Linked DNA regions of Homo sapiens: regions 2 and 3 are each linked to region 1. The links are contacts of gene promoters, found by promoter capture Hi-C in human tissues and cell types (Jung and others, 2019). All regions are on one chromosome and are shown on one strand. The core of a region is centred on a gene start or on the middle of the fragment in contact, and the rest is flanking DNA. Distances in the headings are between cores, read along the strand shown. Region 1 holds the start of ZNF66 (zinc finger protein 66). Region 2 overlaps ZNF493 (zinc finger protein 493). Region 3 holds the start of ZNF708 (zinc finger protein 708).

Evidence for each region. The method cuts DNA at HindIII sites, captures the fragments that hold promoters and counts their contacts. A contact is called where the count stands out against the background at its distance.
Region 2: a fragment that was not itself captured here is called in contact with the fragment with the promoter of ZNF66 in region 1 in 1 of the 25 tissues and cell types used here (pancreas).
Region 3: the fragment with the promoter of ZNF708 here is called in contact with the fragment with the promoter of ZNF66 in region 1 in 3 of the 25 tissues and cell types used here (heart right ventricle, spleen and stomach).

Annotation. Positions count from the first base shown.
Region 1 is chr19:20,774,958-20,777,766 of GRCh38, reverse strand. It overlaps ZNF66 (zinc finger protein 66), which reads right to left and starts at 1,463. Exons shown (of 4, transcript NM_001355197.2): 1 at 1,317-1,463. The coding sequence starts at 1,319. The HindIII fragment of the contact is 10,177 bases long and covers 1-2,809 here.
Region 2 is chr19:21,400,695-21,403,503 of GRCh38, reverse strand. The region is part of intron 1 of ZNF493 (zinc finger protein 493); the gene reads right to left. Among named protein-coding and RNA genes, the nearest start is that of ZNF493, 5.0 kb to the right of the region's middle. The HindIII fragment of the contact is 764 bases long and covers 953-1,716 here.
Region 3 is chr19:21,328,062-21,330,870 of GRCh38, reverse strand. It overlaps ZNF708 (zinc finger protein 708), which reads left to right and starts at 1,461. Exons shown (of 4, transcript NM_021269.3): 1 at 1,461-1,661. The coding sequence starts at 1,659. RefSeq lists a silencer at 1,148-1,369 and enhancers at 616-1,604, 1,489-1,668, 1,709-1,908. The HindIII fragment of the contact is 12,621 bases long and covers 1-2,809 here.

The sequences.
Region 1 (2,809 bases), core at 214-2,713:
GTAGTCCCAACTACTGGAGAGGCTGAAGCAGGAGAATCGCTTGAACCCATGAGGTGGAGGTTGCAGTGAGCCAAGATCTGACACTGCACTCTAGCCTGGCGACAGAGCAAGACTCCGTCTCAAAAAATAATAATAATAATAATAATTAATTGAGGAACATGGGGGACACTTGAGGCCCTGCTTGGGACACATGTGAAAAATGCCAGGGAAAGTCAGTCCCCTGTGGGATGTGAAAATAATTAAGTGGCAGGCAATTAGACTGAAGAGGCTCTAGTCCCCGGATTTCTATTTCTAAAAAAAAAAAAAAAAAAAAATCTAAGCTCAAGTGCATTTTTTGGCAAATTACTACATTAGGGGAAACAAAATTCAGGCTTCAGCAACTATAAACTGCCAATTAAGCTCTAATTACATAACCAGGAAATTTCCACCTTGATTGTACAAATTAAGAAACTACATTACTAAACCTAACAAATTATTGAATTTGGTTTTCCTCATCATGCATTTTATAAATGTCTTTTCTTCAAGCCTCTCCCATGGACCACAAACTACAAACTATAGCTGGGTGCTCTACAATTCTTGAATCACTCTTTGATTAAATTGTTTGATATTTTTGCAGTGACTCCCATAATTTTTTTTTTTTTTTTTTTTTTTTAGACAAGAGTCTTGCTCTGTCGCCCAGGCTGGAGTGCAGTGGCAGGATTTCAGCTCACTGCAACCTCCGCCTCCCGGGTTCAAGCGATTCTCTCACTTCTGCCTCCCGAGAAGCTGGGACTACAGACATTCGCCAACATATCCACCTAATTTTTGTATTTTTAGTAGACAAGGGGTTTCCCCATTTTGGTCAGTCTGGTCTTCAACTCCTGACCTCAAGTGATCCGCCCGCCTCGGCCTCCCAACGTGCGGGGATTACAGGCTTGAACGACCGCGCCCGGCCCCATACAATTTTAATAGCAGAAAAGAGAAACTGTGAACCCCACAGACCAAAGCTCTTCCCATTCATGAACCCGCACCGCGAGTCAGCATTCTCCCCTGAAGACCCTCCGGTGGTCCCTGCACAATCTGGGAGAGACACGGCACTGCGGGTGCAGAGCTGCCCACAGAGCGCTCCAGGCCAGGGGCACAGTCACTGCGCGGGGAAGCGACAGGACGCCCGGGGGCCAGGCTGTCAGCGTAGCCGCCATCTTATGGCTGAATGGGACTGAGGCAGAGCTGGGTAAGGAGAATTCGGGGTGCAGATTGTGGAGCTGACTGAGGGGAGGCCTGAGTCCCGCCACAGACACTTCACCTCTCTCGGGATGCTGGACCGGCACTCTCACCATTTCTAGGCTTCCAGGGGGTCCTGGCGTCTTAGCTGTGGATCTCCCAATACCTGCAGGACACAGGGCCACAGAGGCTGGGCCTCTAGGAGAAGAAGACAGAGAGCAGTGAACAGACGACCTGGAGCTCCAGCTGCAGGGAGAGACAAAGACCCCGCCAAATCCGGAAGCCGTCCTGTTCATTCCAGCTGCGTGCCTGATTGGACGGTTTCCAGCCCAGCGCCTCTGATTGGCTAATGCTTAAGGTCCCGCCCCCTCAGACACTGAGTGACAGAAGATGTGATCAGCTGCTGGGCGGAGTGAAGAAAAGAGTGACAGCCTAAGCTGCAGCCTTTTCAGGCAGGGCTTCCTCCCAGAGCTGAGCCTGGTCCATGCCAGAGCATGGGAACATTTTATCTCTTTTTTACTCTCTGTCTTGTTGAATGTATTCAAAGGTGAACAGAAGTATTTTGCTGTCATATTAATAATACATAAAATTTTTGTTCAAGAGAAAATCAGCTTTTACTTTGGTAATAGTGTATTAACGATTAAAGCTAATTTTAATAAAACCTTATAAATAAATCAAATTTGTCATTTTTGACCACTCCAGATTTACATATATATTTTGTAATCCCTGTAATTTTTTTATCTATTTATATTTTATTTTTATCCACATTCTTCTTATTTTTTCAACTTGAAACAACCTTTAAGTAATTTCAAACTGCTATAAGAGATAGAAATAATTTAGGGTCAGGCACAGGTAGCTCATGCCAGTAATCCCAACACTTTGGGAGGCCAAGGTGGGTGGATCACTTGAGGTCAGGAGTTCAAGACTAGCCTGGCCAACATGGTGAAACCCCATCTCTACTCACAATGTAAAAAATTAGCTGGGTATGGTGGTGCACATCTGTGGTCCCAGCTACTCCGGAGGCTGAGGCAGGAGAATCACTTGAACCCAGGAGGTGGAGGTTATGTAACAGCCCAAGGGGTTCATTTTGCCCTTTGCCTAGACAGAGCCAATTCATGAAGACAGGAGAATTTATGGAGGAAAAGTTAAATGTTAAATTTGAACTCAATTGAACGTGGACACAATGGTCACCAAGTCCCAGAACAGGTCCTGGTTGTGAGCCCCTGAGGTGTTCATCCAGAGCTGTATCAAAGAAATGTCTATTTCATTCTATTACTATACATTAGTTGTTGAAAAACAATAGACAATCACAAAAACAACTTGACCCTTTTGTGTTCCGTGAGGCAAGTCCCAAATGGCCCTCCTCACTGGGCCTTATGCCAAACAACTCGTTACAAAAGAGCTAGGGTCCCAGACCACCCTGAAGCTTCATGAGACTCCTTGTCTGTGCATGAATGGGTGGCCGACTCTGGAGCCTGGGCTGTTTCTTCCTACTCAGTTGGTAATCCTCCATAGTCTAGTGAGGGTAAATATATATATATATCTTTTCCCATCTCCTCTTCTTACTGCAATTTGCTTATTATATCAATCTGTGTATTATATTTAT
Region 2 (2,809 bases), core at 85-2,584, 630 kb before region 1:
AAAAAGCCCACTCACTTTTGTCCTTTATAACAGGAGAGATTCAGGAACAATGAGCTGCTCAATGAATATAAAAATATGTTTCTCTATTTGTCTTCATGTGCCTGCCCTTGCCACAAACACCAGCAATTTCTGCTATAGTAATGAAAATATGGGTGACACTGACCTCTTCCTATCAAAACCAAACGGAACAGTTCCTGTGACCACCTTTTAGTGCAAAGGTGAAACTTAACTCTCATGAATCTATCTTGAACCCCACACACTTAATTCTGTCCTCACCTTAAGAGTCACATGAGACACAATTAAAACATGAATACTTTCACCTAGAACAATACACAGAACCTGTGGAGAGAGCACAAGTAAAGAGATTTCTGCAAATTGGCCATGTAATCCCGACACAATTCTGTCCCTGACATCCTCAAATGTCTTAAAGACACCTAGGTGATTGTGAGACGGTTCTCAGTGACTCAAGGCTGATGGCCCAGTGATAAGCCAGGCTGAGAGAGATTCATGCTGATTCTAAATAGAAAATGGAACTGCTTTGGTGGAACTCCAGAACCTGGATCACCTATCCTGATGTGCTAGCTTTTGGGTAAGAAGGACAAGAATACTCTACTCCATTATTACAATTTACAGGTAGGTATAGTTGTGGTCATAGCTCTGGATACTTTGTGGCCTTATCCCTCACTCTTAAGATGCTTGTTTACACTTATAGATTCTGTCATCAGATTCTATTTATACCTGGAGCCTCTCATATAACTGTAGCAGGTCACTAAACAAGATCTGAAAAGCTTAAAAAGCCACACTCTCAAAGGGGGGCTTTAAGATGTCTATGTTGACATCTCACAATGCAGAAAATGCATTTTGTTGGTTTTCATTACATTCACAATTGAAAGTCTGGCCCTGTCTTGTAAATCCCAGGCAGAGGCCTGACCCTATGTGCAGATTCTAAGTGGGGTTAGCCTGACTCTGCATTCTTGGGTGTTACAGCAAGCAGAGTACAATCAAAGGAGAGATCCCTTCATAGAGGCTCCTCTAGCCCATTCTATTAATATGTCTACCTAAAAGGAAAAAACTGAGGAAACATGAATATAATTAGAGAGTTCGTCAGGGCCAAGCTTGAGGATTATAACCTTGGAACAATGATACATCCTGCAAAGACTGAACAAATAAGAAATTGAATCCCTGAATAGACCAGTAACAAGCTCCAAAATTGAATTAGTAATAAATAGCTGGCCAGGGCCAGGCATGGTGGCTCATGCCTGTAACCCCAGCACTTTGGGAGGCCAAGGCAGGTGGATCACAAGGTCAGGAGATCGAGACCAGCCTGGCTAACACAGCGAAACCCCATCTCTACTAAAAATACAAAAAATTAGCCGGTCGTGATGGCGGGTGCCTGTAGTCCCAGCTACTCGGGAGGCTGAGGCAGGAGAATGGCATGAACCCATGAGGTGGAGGTTGCAGTGAGCCGAGATCGTGCCACTGCACTCCAGCCTGGGTGACAGAGCGAGACTCCATCTCAAAAATAAATAAATAAATAAAATGAAATAAATAAATAAGTAGATAAATAAATAGCTGACCGGGCATGGTGGCTCACTCCTGTAATCCTAGCACTTTGGGAGGCCGAGGCGAGTGGATCACGAGGTCAGAAGTTCAAGAACAGCGAACAGCCTGGCCAACATGGTGAAACCCCATCTCTACTAAAAATACAAAAATTAGCTGGGTGTGGTGGTGCACACTTGTAATTCCAGCTACTCAGGTGGCTGAAGCAGAGCATTGCTTAAACTCAGGAGGTGGAGGTTGCAGTGAGCTGAGACTGTGCCACTGCACTCCAGCCTGGGCGACAGAGTGAGACTGTCTCAAAAAATAAAATAAAATAAAATAAATAAATAAATAAATAGCCTGCCCACCAAAAATAAAACAAAGAACCACACAAATTTACAGCTGAATTCTACCAGATGTAAAGTAAGAGCTGGTACCACTCCTACTAAGATTATTTCAAAATACTGAGAAAAAGGGACTTCTTTCCAACCCATTATGTAAAAACAGCATTATTCTAATATGAAAATTTGGCAAATATAAAACAAAAAAATAGAAACCTTGAGGCCAATATTTTTAATGAACATTGATGAAAATATCCTCAAGAAAATACTGGAAAACCAAATCCAGGAGAACATCAAAAAGCTAATCCACTACGATCAACTTGGCTGTATCTCTGAAATAAAAGGTTGGTTCAACATGCAATTAATAAATGTTACTCCTCAAGTAAACAGAACTAAAGACAAAAACCACAGGGTTATTTCAGTAGATGTTAAAAAAGCTTGCAATGAAATTTACCATCCTTCATGTTTAAAACTTTCAAAAAACTAGGCATTGGAGGTACATACATCAAAATACTGAGTTATCTAAGTATGACAAACTTACAGCCAACATACAAAATGAACACAAGCTGGAAGCATTCCTTCATGAAAACTGGCACAAGAAAAGAATGCTTTTTCTCAAAACTCTTGTTCAACATAGAATTCAAAGTCTCGGCCAGAACAATCAGGGAAGAGAGAGAAATAAAAGGCATTCAGACAGGAAGAGAGGAAGTCAAACTATTCCTGTGTGCAGATGACAGGATTCTGTATCTTCAAAACCCTACAGTCTCAGTAGAAAAGCTCTTTAAACTAATAAACAACTTCAGCAAAGTTTCAGGATACTAAATCATAGCATCCCTGATGTACAATAACAACTACATGGTCAGTATGACCCTCCCTGTCCCCTTTTATCTTAACCTTAACTGCATCTGCCTGTAGCTTTCCAGGACTCT
Region 3 (2,809 bases), core at 212-2,711, 550 kb before region 1:
TGCTACTGGCTGCCTGGAATGCGCCTGGTCTGAACTGCGATGTGCTAGAAAGGTAAAATACGAGTTAGTTTCAAAGGTTTAGTTCCATATATATAGACACACTTCATTAATAATTACATATTTCTCACATATTAAAATGACAATATTTTCGATATATTGGGTTAAATTGTTACAATCAATTTCACCTGTTCTTTGTTTCTTTTTAAAAATAGAGCTAAACTCTTTTTAAAGTTTGGCTACAAATTAGCCGGGCATGGTGGCCAGCGCCTTTTATCTCAGCTACTTGGGAGGCTGAGGCAGGAGAATCGCTTGAACCCGGGAGGCAGAGGTTGCAGTGAGCAGAAATCGCGCCATTGCACTCCAGCCCAGGCAACAATGTGAGACTCCGTCTAAAAAAATAAAAATATAAAATAAAGTTTGGCTACTAGAAAATTTAAAATTTACATGTGGCTCACATTTTATGATTTTATTTTATTTATTTATTTTTTTTGAGACAGAGTTTCACTCTTGTTGTCCATACTGGAGTGCAGTGGCGTGATCTCGTCTCACTGCAACCTCCACCGCCCAGGATCAAGCGATTCTCCTGCCCCAGCCTCCCAAGTAGCTGGGATTACAGGCGCCTGCCACCATGCCCAGCTAATTTTTTTGTATTGTTTTAGAGACGGGGTTTCACCATGTTGGCCAGACTGATCTCGAACTCTGAACCTCAGATGATCCACCCTCTTCGGCCTCCCGAAGTACTGGGATTACAGGCGTGAGGTACAGCGCCCAACTTGTGGCTCACATTTTATTTCAGAGAATTGCCTCCTTTTTAAAATCTCAGGCTGCCTGCTCAAAGGACCAGAAGTCAGGAAGGTCACAAAATATAAAATTTTAGAACAGTTGGGCCGGGCGCAGTGGCTCATGCCTGTAATCCCAGCATTTTGGGAGGCCGAGGCGGGAGGATCACCTGAGGTCTGGAGTTTGAGACCAGCCTGACCAACATGGAGAAACCCCGTCTCTACTAAAAATACAAAAAAATTAGCCGGGCATGGTGGCGCATGCCTGTAATCTCAGCTACGCGGGAGGCTGAGGCAGGAGAATCGCTTGAACCCGCGAGGTGGAGGTTGCGATGAGCCAAGATCGCGCCATTGCACTCCAGCCTGGGCAACAAGAGTGAAACTCAATCTCAAAAAAAAAATTTTTTTTAGAACAATTGGGTTATTATATTCTTTTCATTTGTGAATAGCCATATAGCATATTATTTATAAGGGCATATGACCTTATACACAAGATTAAAGGCAAACACCCTCTCGGGTGGGCCTGGCTCAGCTCAGGGAGGAAGCCTTGCCTGAAAAGGCTGCAGCATAGGCTGTCACACTTCATTCAGCCCAGCATCTGATCACATCTTCCGTCCCTCAGGGCCTGAAGGGGCGGGTTTTAACATTATCCAATCAGGGACTCTGAGCTGGGGACAGTTCACTCAGACACGCAGCTGGACCGGACAGGGCGGCTTCCGGGTTTGGCGCGGCCTTTGTCTCTTGCTGCAGCCGGAGCTCCGGTCTCGTCTTCACTGCTGTTTGTCCTCTGCTCCTAGAGGCCCAGACTCTGTGGCTCTGTGACCTGCAGGTATTGGGAGATCCACAGCTAAGACTCCAGGACCCTCTGGAAGCCTAGAAATGGTGAGAGTGCCGTCCGACATCCCGAGAGAGGGGAAGGGCTGGTTGAAACCTGTGGGAAGTGGCTGTGGCGGGACTCAGGACTCCCCGCAGTCATCTCCACAATCTGCGCTCCGAGTTCTCCTTGCCTAGCTCGGCCTCAGTCCCCTTCAGCCATAAGATGGCGGCTGCGCCGACAGCCGGGCCCCCGGGCGTCCTGTCTCTTCCCTGCGCAGTGACTGTGCCCTGGCCTGCAGCCCTCTCTGGGCGGCTCTGCACCGGCAGCGCCGCGCCTCTCCCAGATTGTGCAGGGACCATGGGAGGGTGGTCAGGGGAGAATCCTGACTTGGGGTCGGGTTCATGAATGGGAAGAGCTTTGGTCTGTGGGGTTCCCGGTTCCTATTTTCTCCTATTAAAAATCTGTGGCAGTCATCGCAAAAAATATTAAAGAATTTAATCAAAGAGTGATTCAATAATTGTAGAGCACAAAAGTATGTTTTGTAGTTTGTGGTTCATGGGAGGAGCTTGAAGGAAAGACTTTTTATAAGGTGCATGATGAAGAAAACTATATTTAATAATCGGTTAGGTACATTTACGTAGCTGTTGCTGTTAAGTAGAAAGCCGGGGACTAGAGCCTCCTCAGTGTAATTGCCTGCCACTTAATTATTCTCACACTCCACAGGGGACTGATTTTCCCCTGCATTTTTCACATGCGTTCCAAGCGGGGTCTCAAGTGTACCTCCCAGCCCCATTCCTCCAGCCTAACTCTGGCCTGCAGTTAGATTTAAACTGCAAATAAACTAAAATACTAAATTTCTAGTTCCTTCTGACATTTCCAAATGCCAGCTTGCCTTTCCTAATTCACATTCTCAACTGTTTTTCCTTTAGTGTACATTTTTGATACTGTATTTTAGTTAATCATTTTTTGACAAAGCATTGGATGGCACTTAAAATTGTTTTCTGGTTGAAAATATTTCTCATGAGAAGAAAGCAAAAAATAATTCCCTGACACTGTATTTTATGAAATTTCTATGGCTTTTTTTTTTTTATCTTCCTCAGGCACAGAAATCTTATCAGAATGTTTGTTTTCAGGTGAAGGTTTTTCTTTGGAAACTTTACGGAGTGATGTGTCTTCAGCCACCCTTCAGTTTTTTCCTGGTCCTGGGTTTCAG